2 separate regions of the Homo sapiens genome follow, and region 2 is linked to region 1. The links are contacts of gene promoters, found by promoter capture Hi-C in blood cells and fetal thymus (Javierre and others, 2016). All regions are on one chromosome and are shown on one strand. The core of a region is centred on a gene start or on the middle of the fragment in contact, and the rest is flanking DNA. Distances in the headings are between cores, read along the strand shown.

Evidence for each region. The method cuts DNA at HindIII sites, captures the fragments that hold promoters and counts their contacts. A CHiCAGO score of 5 or more calls a contact.
Region 2: a contact is called between a fragment that was not itself captured here and the fragment with the promoter of SYS1 in region 1, in 10 of 17 cell types (total CD8 T cells, activated CD4 T cells, naive CD4 T cells and 7 more). The highest score is 8.2, in total CD8 T cells.

What each region holds. Positions count from the first base shown.
Region 1 is chr20:45,359,867-45,364,478 of GRCh38, reverse strand. It overlaps SYS1 (SYS1 golgi trafficking protein), which reads right to left and starts at 1,323. Exons shown (of 4, transcript NM_033542.4): 1 at 1,164-1,323; 2 at 786-950. The coding sequence starts at 947. It overlaps SYS1-DBNDD2 (SYS1-DBNDD2 readthrough (NMD candidate)), which reads right to left and starts at 1,310. Exons shown (of 6, transcript NR_003189.2): 1 at 1,164-1,310; 2 at 786-950. It overlaps LOC124904914 (a long non-coding RNA gene), which reads left to right and starts at 1,111. Exons shown (of 2, transcript XR_007067609.1): 1 at 1,111-1,411; 2 at 1,653-2,123. RefSeq lists an enhancer at 1,154-1,593. The HindIII fragment of the contact is 10,354 bases long and covers 1-2,933 here.
Region 2 is chr20:45,431,375-45,435,706 of GRCh38, reverse strand. The region is part of intron 2 of LOC105372631 (a long non-coding RNA gene); the gene reads right to left. Among named protein-coding and RNA genes, the nearest start is that of MIR6812, 8.0 kb to the right of the region's middle. The HindIII fragment of the contact is 8,302 bases long and covers 1-4,332 here.

The DNA of each region.
Region 1 (4,612 bases), core at 74-2,573:
AAAAAAAAAAAAAGAACTGTGCTCATCACCACGCCACAGCTGCCTCTTAGATGTAACAACTTATAGGCCTCCTTTACACTTTACAAAGTACCTTCTTATTCCTAAACCCCTCTGGGCCTTGTAACATTTTGTTGAGGGCAACATGGTAGGAGCATCCGGCCCACTTTTCAGAAAAGGCTCAGAAAGGGGAAGCAACTTGCCCAAGGTCCCACAGCTAGTTTTATATGTTTAGGCCTAGACTGAACCCTTGCTTTTCTGAACCCAAAGCACATGCTCTTTATATTGCAGTCCACGACCTCTCTGCAACTAGTCTCATGGTTTTGAAGACAGGAAAACAAGTTCACAGAGGTGACATTTGCCCCAGGTCACACAGCTAGTAAGTGGATCTTAAACGGACGCCTGTCTGACCCCAAAGTCCAGGCAGTTTCCACTGTACCCGCACGAATGCTCTTTTATCCACCCCTCTCTCCGATGTGGCACCTGAGAACCTAGCTCAGAGAAATCAAGTCACTTTCCCAGAGTATCAGAAAGGAAATGTATCAGAGTTGCCTGGAACACAGACGTGTTTATTGTATTAACATCCAGGCCCTTTTCTTTGTACTAATCAGCCTCTGCTGTCATTCCATTTTATGGATGAGGCAGCTGAGGCTCAGAAAGGTGAAATCCCTTTCCCAGGGCTACAAAGAAAGAAGGTGACCCAGCCACGTCTACAGCACAGTAGTGATGGACCACAAAGCCTACTCGGGGAGGCCGAGACCCCACCCGCCCCAGTCCGGGGACCCTACCTCGGCGTCGAACATCTGGTCCAGCGAGGGGCTGCTTCGCACTAGCCCGTCCACCAGCGCCAGCCACAGGCCCAGCGAGCCGTAATACACGGTCTGCATGAGGACGATCTGCGACAGGATCAGCAGCGGGTCCCACACGTAGCTGCGGAACTGACCCGCCATGCCCTGCAGGGACACGAGCCGGGCCTCAGCCAGCGGCCTGTCTCCATGGCAACGTCGCCCCGCCCGGGAGGAGGGACTGGAACCAAGGGGTGAGCCCATTCCAAGAGTCAGGGGGAAGGCGGGGCAGACAGACCCATTCTCAGAGTGAGGGGAAATCCAGCCCATTCCGCCTGCGCGGCCCCCGCCCGTACACGAGCTCCTCTGGGGTCTACTCACCAGTGACAGACTCGACGATCGAAGTGTCTGAGCGTGGCCCGGCCTCACCGGCGGGCTCCCAAAACAGCGCTGACAGACAGGACCATGGAGGAGAGGCGCTGCCGGCCTAGAGAGGCAAAGCTCCAGCGACCACGGCGGCAGGAGCGGCTGCGTAGGAAAGAAACGTTTCCGGGGAAAGCAGCGGAGGGGCGGGGCTGAGGTTGCGCAGGCGTAGTGGGTGCAACCTCTGCCTGAACCTCCTGAACCAGGTACAAGCAGCCGGATAGCGAACTGAGCACATGCGCAGAAGGAAGAGTGAAGGCAAACGGAAGAGAGGAACGAAGGCCGCAGAGCTTGCGCGCCCTCTAGAGGGGAATTCTTTTTTTAAAGGAAGGCGGCTAGGGGAGAGGCAAGTGGGGTGGCTTAGGACGCGGTAATGATGTTTGGGAATTAACGAGGTGATAAACTGTGTCGTTATTTTCAGCCTAAATTCTCAATGTTTTCTCCTAGTTAGAGTCTGATAACTTGAAGTGGACCTGCAAGCTCCTCCACGTAGGAGTTTGCCAATGTTCCCGCTGTACAGATAGTTAAGCTAAGGGCCAGAGAAGGAAAGCAACATACTGTTTCAACGACACAGTTAGTAGCAAAGTAAGTATTAAAATTCAAGTGTTGGTCGGGCGCGGTGGCTCACGCCTGTAATCCCAGCACTTTGGGAGGCTGAGGTGGGCGGATTACCTGAGGTCGGTGTTTCGAGACCAGCCTGACCAACATGGAGAAACCCCGTCTCTGCTAAAAATACAAAATTAGCGGGGCGTGGTGGCGCACGCCTGTAGTCCTAGCTACTCGGGAGGCTGAGCCAGGAGAATTGCTTGAACCCGGGAGGCAGAGGTTGCAGTGAGCCGAGATCACGCCATTGCACTCCAGCCTGGGCAACAAGAGCAAAACTCCGTCTCTAAATAAATAAATAAATAAATAAATAAATAAATAAAATTCAAGTGTTTCCTCAACACTACAACATTGATTTCGCACCTACTCGGTGGCAGGAAGGCTAGAACATGTATATATAAGACAGCCCCTGCCCTGAGACACAGATGAACTATATTAGAAGGCAGAGTAGTGGGTGTTTTAAAATGTGGGTGTCCAGTGGAAAAAGGCACAGGTTCTGAAGTCGCACATAGGAGTAAATCCTGACCCTCTCTGCTGCCATGACTGTTTTATCTATCTTCCAAATCCGAATAGTGGACAGTCAGTAAATATTTGCTGAATGAGTTAAGAACAGAAAAAGCAAGAGCAAATCGATAACTCACTTATTCCTACTCCAGCAGACGAAAACCCATCAACTTCATTGATCCTAGGTTCCCCCTCTCTGAAGTGGAAAGACGGGAAGTAAGTTGTTCCAGGAAAAGAATTTGGGTTTTAGGGCCAGCTATGCCACCCAGTGTGACCAGCAAGCCACTTCCTTCTTTAAACCTCAGCTTCCCTGTTTATGAAATGAGGAGTTGGACATGATTAACGTTTTCCACCATTTAATCTACCTTCCAGTAATTATTTTCTCATTAAAAAAAAAACTTAGGCTGGGCACAGTGGCTCATGCCTGTAATCCCAGCACTTTGGGAGGCTGAGGCGGGCAGATCACAAGGTCAGGAGTTCAAGACCATCCTGGCTAACATGGTGAAACCCCATCTCTATTAAAAATACAGAAAATTAGCCGGGCCTGGTGGCAGGCGCATGTAGTCCCAGCTACTCGGGAGGCTGAGACAGGAGAATGGCGTGAACCTGGGAGGCGAAGCTTGCAGTGAGCCGAGATTGCGCCACTGCAGTCCAGCCTGGGCGACAGAGCGAGACTCCGTCTCAAAAAAAAAAAAAAAAAAACGTATCAAAGAGCCATGTAACTGCCAATCAGAATTTCTGAACAGCTTGTGGTAGCCGTGTTATCACCTTGAGCTGATACAATTCCAGACAAAAGTAAAGAAACTTGAGACTTTATTGAGAGTGTGCGATTGTCCTTATCATTTGGAAATACCCTGAACAGTTCCCCTGGACTCCAGTTGGGGAGTTATTAAGGCCCAAAGATTTCTTAGGTGCTTTCCAGCTCAACCATTCTTTTAGGCACCTCAATTCAGTCCAACAAATATGTATTCAAATTCCTCTAGTTCACTGATTATGCACATGATCTAGTGTTTCTGAGAAAACATCTGTTTCTTAAGTGCCTACATGATCTTGTTTAATTCTCACAATCTGAAAATATAGCTATTGTCCCCTTTTTATAGGGGAGGAAACTAGGCTTGGGGGGAGGTGGTGTGACTCTCTAGGTCAGAGAGCTCACAGGGAGCAGAGCTGAGATTCAAATTCAGGACAACTGACTCCAAACATCAAGATGACTTTTAGTTTAGTTTTGGTTTGGTTTAGTTTGGTTCTTTGAAACAGGGTCTCAATCTGTCACCCATGCTGGTTTGCAGTGGCGCAATCATGGCTCACTGCACCCTCAAACTCCCAGGCCCAAGCCTCGGCCTCCCGAATAGCTGAGACCACAGGCATGTGCCACCACACCTGGCTTTTTTTGAAACGGAGTCTTGCTCTGTCGCTCAGGCTGGGGTGCAGTGGCATGATCTTGGCTCACTGCAACCTCCGCCTCCCGGGTTCGAGCGATTCTCATGCCTCAGCCTCCTGAGTAGCTGGGATTACAGGTGTGTGCCACCATGCCCAGCTAATTTTTGTATTTTTAGTAGAGATGGGATTTCACCATTGTGGCCAGGCTGGTCTGGACTCCTGACCTCAAGTGATCTGCCCGCCTCAGCCTCCCAAAGTGCTGGGATTATAGGCATGAGTCACCATGCCTGGCCCGCACTTGGCTTTTTTGATTTTTCATTTAATTTTATTTTTTTGTAGAGACAGGGTATCCCTATGTTGTCCAGGCTGGTCCTGAACCCTGGGCTCAAGCAATCCTCCCACCTTGGCCTCCCAAAGTGTTAGGATTACAGGCATAAGCCGCTGTGTCCAGCCAAGATGCCATTTTAGAATAAAAGAACAGGAAAGAAGGGAGGAAGGGAGGGAGGGAGAGGGAAATAAAGGAAGGGAGATAGTAAAATAGGTGGTGGAGTAGCAGGAAGTGGAAAAGGGGCAGTGAATCTCTCTGCTCAGTTAGCCCTGGGGTGAGGGATTAGGGAGAAATGGGAGGAAAGGCTTAGAAAAGGGCTGCAGAGGTTGACAATACCCAGGGCAGCTGTCTTCCTTGCAGATGCTGGAATGCGTGGCTCTTCCTGGGCTCTGCTCCCTTCACGTCACAGCTGGGCCCACTCCACCCCATCTCCTCCCAATAGGAAAGGCCCTGCCTACCCATTCTGCTGAACTAGAAAACACAGGTAGCTTTTGATATTAGGGCTGGCTGGAATGTCTGATGTCATCCCTGGAGTCCGGAGCTCACCTCTGGGAAAACCCCACTGGGCGTGCAAGCTAACCTCCTGCCCTTT
Region 2 (4,332 bases), core at 1,732-4,231, 70 kb before region 1:
CCACAAGGACACAAAGATGTGAGCAATAAACACTAAGGATTCCAGAAGGGGGGATGGAGGAGAGCAAAAGTTGAAAAACTACCTGTTGGGTACTATATTCACTGCTTGGGCGACGGGATCGTTGGAAGCCCAAACCTCAGCATCATGCAATACACCCGTGCAACAAACCTGCACACGTACTTTCTGAATCTAAAAGAATTTCTAAAATAAAATAAATTGTACCCCCTTAGTTCTTTCTGAGCACCCTCTTTTTATCTTCATAACACCATCATTTGTATTTATGGAATGATTATGCATCATTATTTGGTAAATGACCTCACCAGCTAGACTCTAAATCAAAAAGGGCTGGGGCTGTATCTGACATATTCTCAGTTGTATCAGCAGCACCTAGCACGGCATCTAACATAAATGATACTTATTTGTGGTTTGGCTTAATACAAAAAAAAAAAAAAAAACTTTGGGAGGGGAGGGAATTCAATCAACAGACAAAAAATAATGCTATGTAGGGGAAAGAGAAACAAAATGTTCACAGGTATTGTATTAGTGTTGTAAGAACATGGGCGTTCTTTTTCTTTCTTTAATATCACCTATTTAATCTCTTATGTTCTTTTTATGATTAAGAAAATAAAAAACCTTACAAATATTTTTGTACTATTTAAAATTAAGTTTTCATTTAAAACATAGACTTCTGGGTGTATTAGTCCATTCTCCCACTGCTATAAAGAACTACCTGACACCAGGAGTGGTGGCTCACGCCTGTAATCTCAGCGCTTTGGGAGGCCGAGGAGGGCAGATCACCTGAGGTCGGGTGTTCGAGACCAGCCTGACCAACATGGAAAAACCCCACATCTACTAAAAATACAAAATTAGCTGGGTGTGGTGGCACATGCCTGTAATCCCAGCTACTCTGGAGGCTGAAGCAAGAGAATCACTTGAGCCCGGGAGTTAGAGGTTGCAGTGAGCTGAGATCGCGCCATTACACTTCAGCCTGAGCAACAAGAGTGAAACTGTGTCTCAAAAAAAAACACAAAAAAACAAAACAAACAAACAAAAAATGGCCGGGTGCAGTGGCTCATGCCTGTAATCCCAGCACTTTGGGAGACCGGGGCGGGCGGATCACCTGAGGTCGGGAGTTCAAGATCAGCCTGACCAACATGGAGAAACCCTGTCTCTACTAAAAAAAAAAATACAAAACTAGCCAGGGTGGTGGTGCATGCCTGTAATCCCAGCTACTTGGGAGGGTGAGGCAGGAGAATCGCTTGAACCCGGGAGGCGGAGGTTGCGGTGAGCTGAGATCGCGCCATTGCACTCCAGCCTGGGCAACAACAGCAAAACTCCGTCTCAAAAAAAAAACAACTACCCGAGACTGGGTAATTTATAAAGAAGAGGTTTAATTGGCTCACGGTTCTGCCAGCTGTACAGGTAGCATAGCTGGGGAGGCCTCAAGAAACTTTCAATCATGGTGGAAGGCAAAGGGGAAGCAGACATGTCTTACATGGCAGGAGTGGGCGAAAGAGAGAGGGGGGAGGTGCCACACACTTTTAAACAACCAAGTATCATGAGATCTCACTATCAGGAGAACAGAAAGGGGGAAATCCACCCCCATGATCCAACCAGCTCCCACCAGGCCCCACCTCCAATATTGGGGATTACAATTTGACATGAGATTTGGGTGGCAACACAAATCCAAACCATATCACTGAGTAAAGTGCAGATGGCAGGATAGTTTCACAATAGAATGTTCATTCTCTGGTTTCTATTGAATTGGATAGGAGAAAAAAAAAAAACAGGTAAAAAAAAAAAAATCAGCAGCAGTAAACCACCATGGGAAACAGTAGAACCTCATTCCATAAACTTCAAAAAGCAGTAGCAACAGAAAAATATAGAATATCTTGATGTGTTTCGTCATGGTCCTATCCCCAACTGCTCTGTTCCAGAAGAGGTGCAGGAGAAAGAGGAAATAATACAAAAGTCCTGAAAATTCTCACCAGTTGTTCCAGTGAGTTGCCTACCAGGATCCATACTTAGTGGCACAAAACAACAACTCTTTTCTGATGCACGTGGATTCTGTAGGTCTGGAATTCAGGCGGGGCTTAGTTGGGGAATTCTTTTGCTCCTTGTGGCCATGTCTGAGGTCATTCTGTGGTACCCAGCTGGGCTGGGCTGGGCTGGAGGACCCAGGATGGCTTCAATCACATGTCTAGGGCCTTGGCAGAAAGGCTAAACTAAAAGGCTAAACTCAGCTGGAACTGTTGGCCGGTGTCCACTGCATGTGTTCTTTTCAGCAGTGGCCTCTGGGTAGTCAGACTTTTCACATGGACATCAGCATCACCCAGAGCCAGCATCCCAAGAGTGCAAGATGGAAGGACAGCCTTTTTTGACCTAGCCTCAGAAATCACACAGTATCTCTTCCACTGCATTCTACTGATCATGATGGAGTCGGCAAGGTCAGCCCAGATTCAAAAAGGGGATTGACCCCAATTCTCAATGGGACAAGTGCCAGAAAAATTGCAGACATGTTTTTAAACTGAGACAGATTAGTTAAAATTTTCCTATATGTAAAATATAACTTCCTCCAAGACCCGTCCCCACCTACCCCCACTGCCCTACTTCCCACTAAAAAAAAAAAAAAAAAAAAAAAAAAAAAAAATCTTGGCCAGATGCAGTGGTTCATGACTGTAATCCCAGCACTTTGGGAGACTGAGGTGGGAGGAACACTTGTATCCAGGAGTTCGAGACCAGCCTGGGCAACATAGCAAGACCCTATCTCTATAAAAAATAAAAAATTAGCCAATCACGGTGCCACAAACCTGTAGTAGTCCCAGCTACTCAAAAGGCTGAGGTGGGAGGATTGCTTGAGCCTGGAAAGTCAAAACTGCAGTGAGCCGTGATCACACCACTACACTCCAGCCTGGGTGACAGAGTGAGTTTGTCTTAAAACCAAACAAACAAACAAACAAACAAACAAACACCTCATCCTATTTTGACATCAAACTCAGCTCCAATTTCTGGAGCTTATCTACATCAAGTCCAGCTGCAAAGAGGCGTCTTGGGTTCTGTTCCGTGGGTAGAGTTTCTCTCCATCTGAAAACCTGTGAACTAAAGAGACATGTTTTCTGCCTCACATGCACCCAACCTGCAATGGCGAGATTGGCACAGGAAACCACTATGTTCACTACCGTTTTAAAAGGGGAAGTTCAGAGCAATCACTGAGCCCCGGCAATTCTGAAATTGAATTGTGCACCTGTTGCCAGAGGTTCTTGGCTCCACTCTGACTCACACTTCCTTTTCCATAAGAAATGGCTCTTGCTTGCAACTGAGTAGCCTTCTTGTCCTGTGTCTTAACAGAATACCTGAAACTGGGTAATTTATTAAAAACCAAATTTATTTCTTACAGTTCTGTAGGCTGGGAAGCCCAAGGTCAAGGGGATGCACCTGGTGAAAGCCTTCTTGTTGTGGGGACCCTCTGCAGAGTCCTGAGGCAGTTCAGGACATCACATGGTGAGGGGGCTGAGCATGCTAAACTATGTGTTTTCCTCTTATAAAGTCACCAGTCCCACTCCTATGATAATCCATTAATCCATTTATCTGTGAATGGATTAATCCATTCATGACCCAATCACCTCTTAAAGACCCCACCTCTCAGTACTGCCACATTAGGGATTAAATTTTAATATGAGTTTTGGGGAGGAGTGTTAGAGAACTGCATGCAAAAAGTCAAGATGCATCCCCAGAAAATTCAAGTCCCACCCAAGCTCTTGGGGTCTCCACAGAGATAAAAAGCCCACCAAGGTTTGCCATTCCCCAAGGCTCAAATTTCTAATTGGTTGGCTGATCCAAAGCTCCAGGGAAACTTTCTCAAAAATGGAATAACACGTCACTAGAGGAAGCCAACTGTGGTTCCAGGAATTTAAGAAAATCTCCAGAGAGCAGAGCCCAGGCTGCCCATCATAGTCAAGAGACATCTCCAATAGCATTCCTTTCTTCCCTCAACCCCATGACTTTAGGCTCCACAGAAGTGTATAGAGGCAAACTTCAGACTGCAATTTGGGGGGTAGGGATGGAAATAACAATAGATCTCAGATATGGTGAGAAGGAAACCAAAGAGAATATACTGACACCAATTAGAATAAGCGAAAGGACAGGGCAGAGTTGCCCAAACTGAGCCTGACGAAGATGAAGGGAAATGACAGAGTAGCTATGCACCATACTACATACAGTTATAAGGAAGAAAGAAAATAAAGCAGGGAGGGAGGGAAGAAAGGAAAAAAAGAAGAAAATTAAAAAGGAAAGGACGCTGGAGAAAAGAAACAGACACAGATAACTGAATTC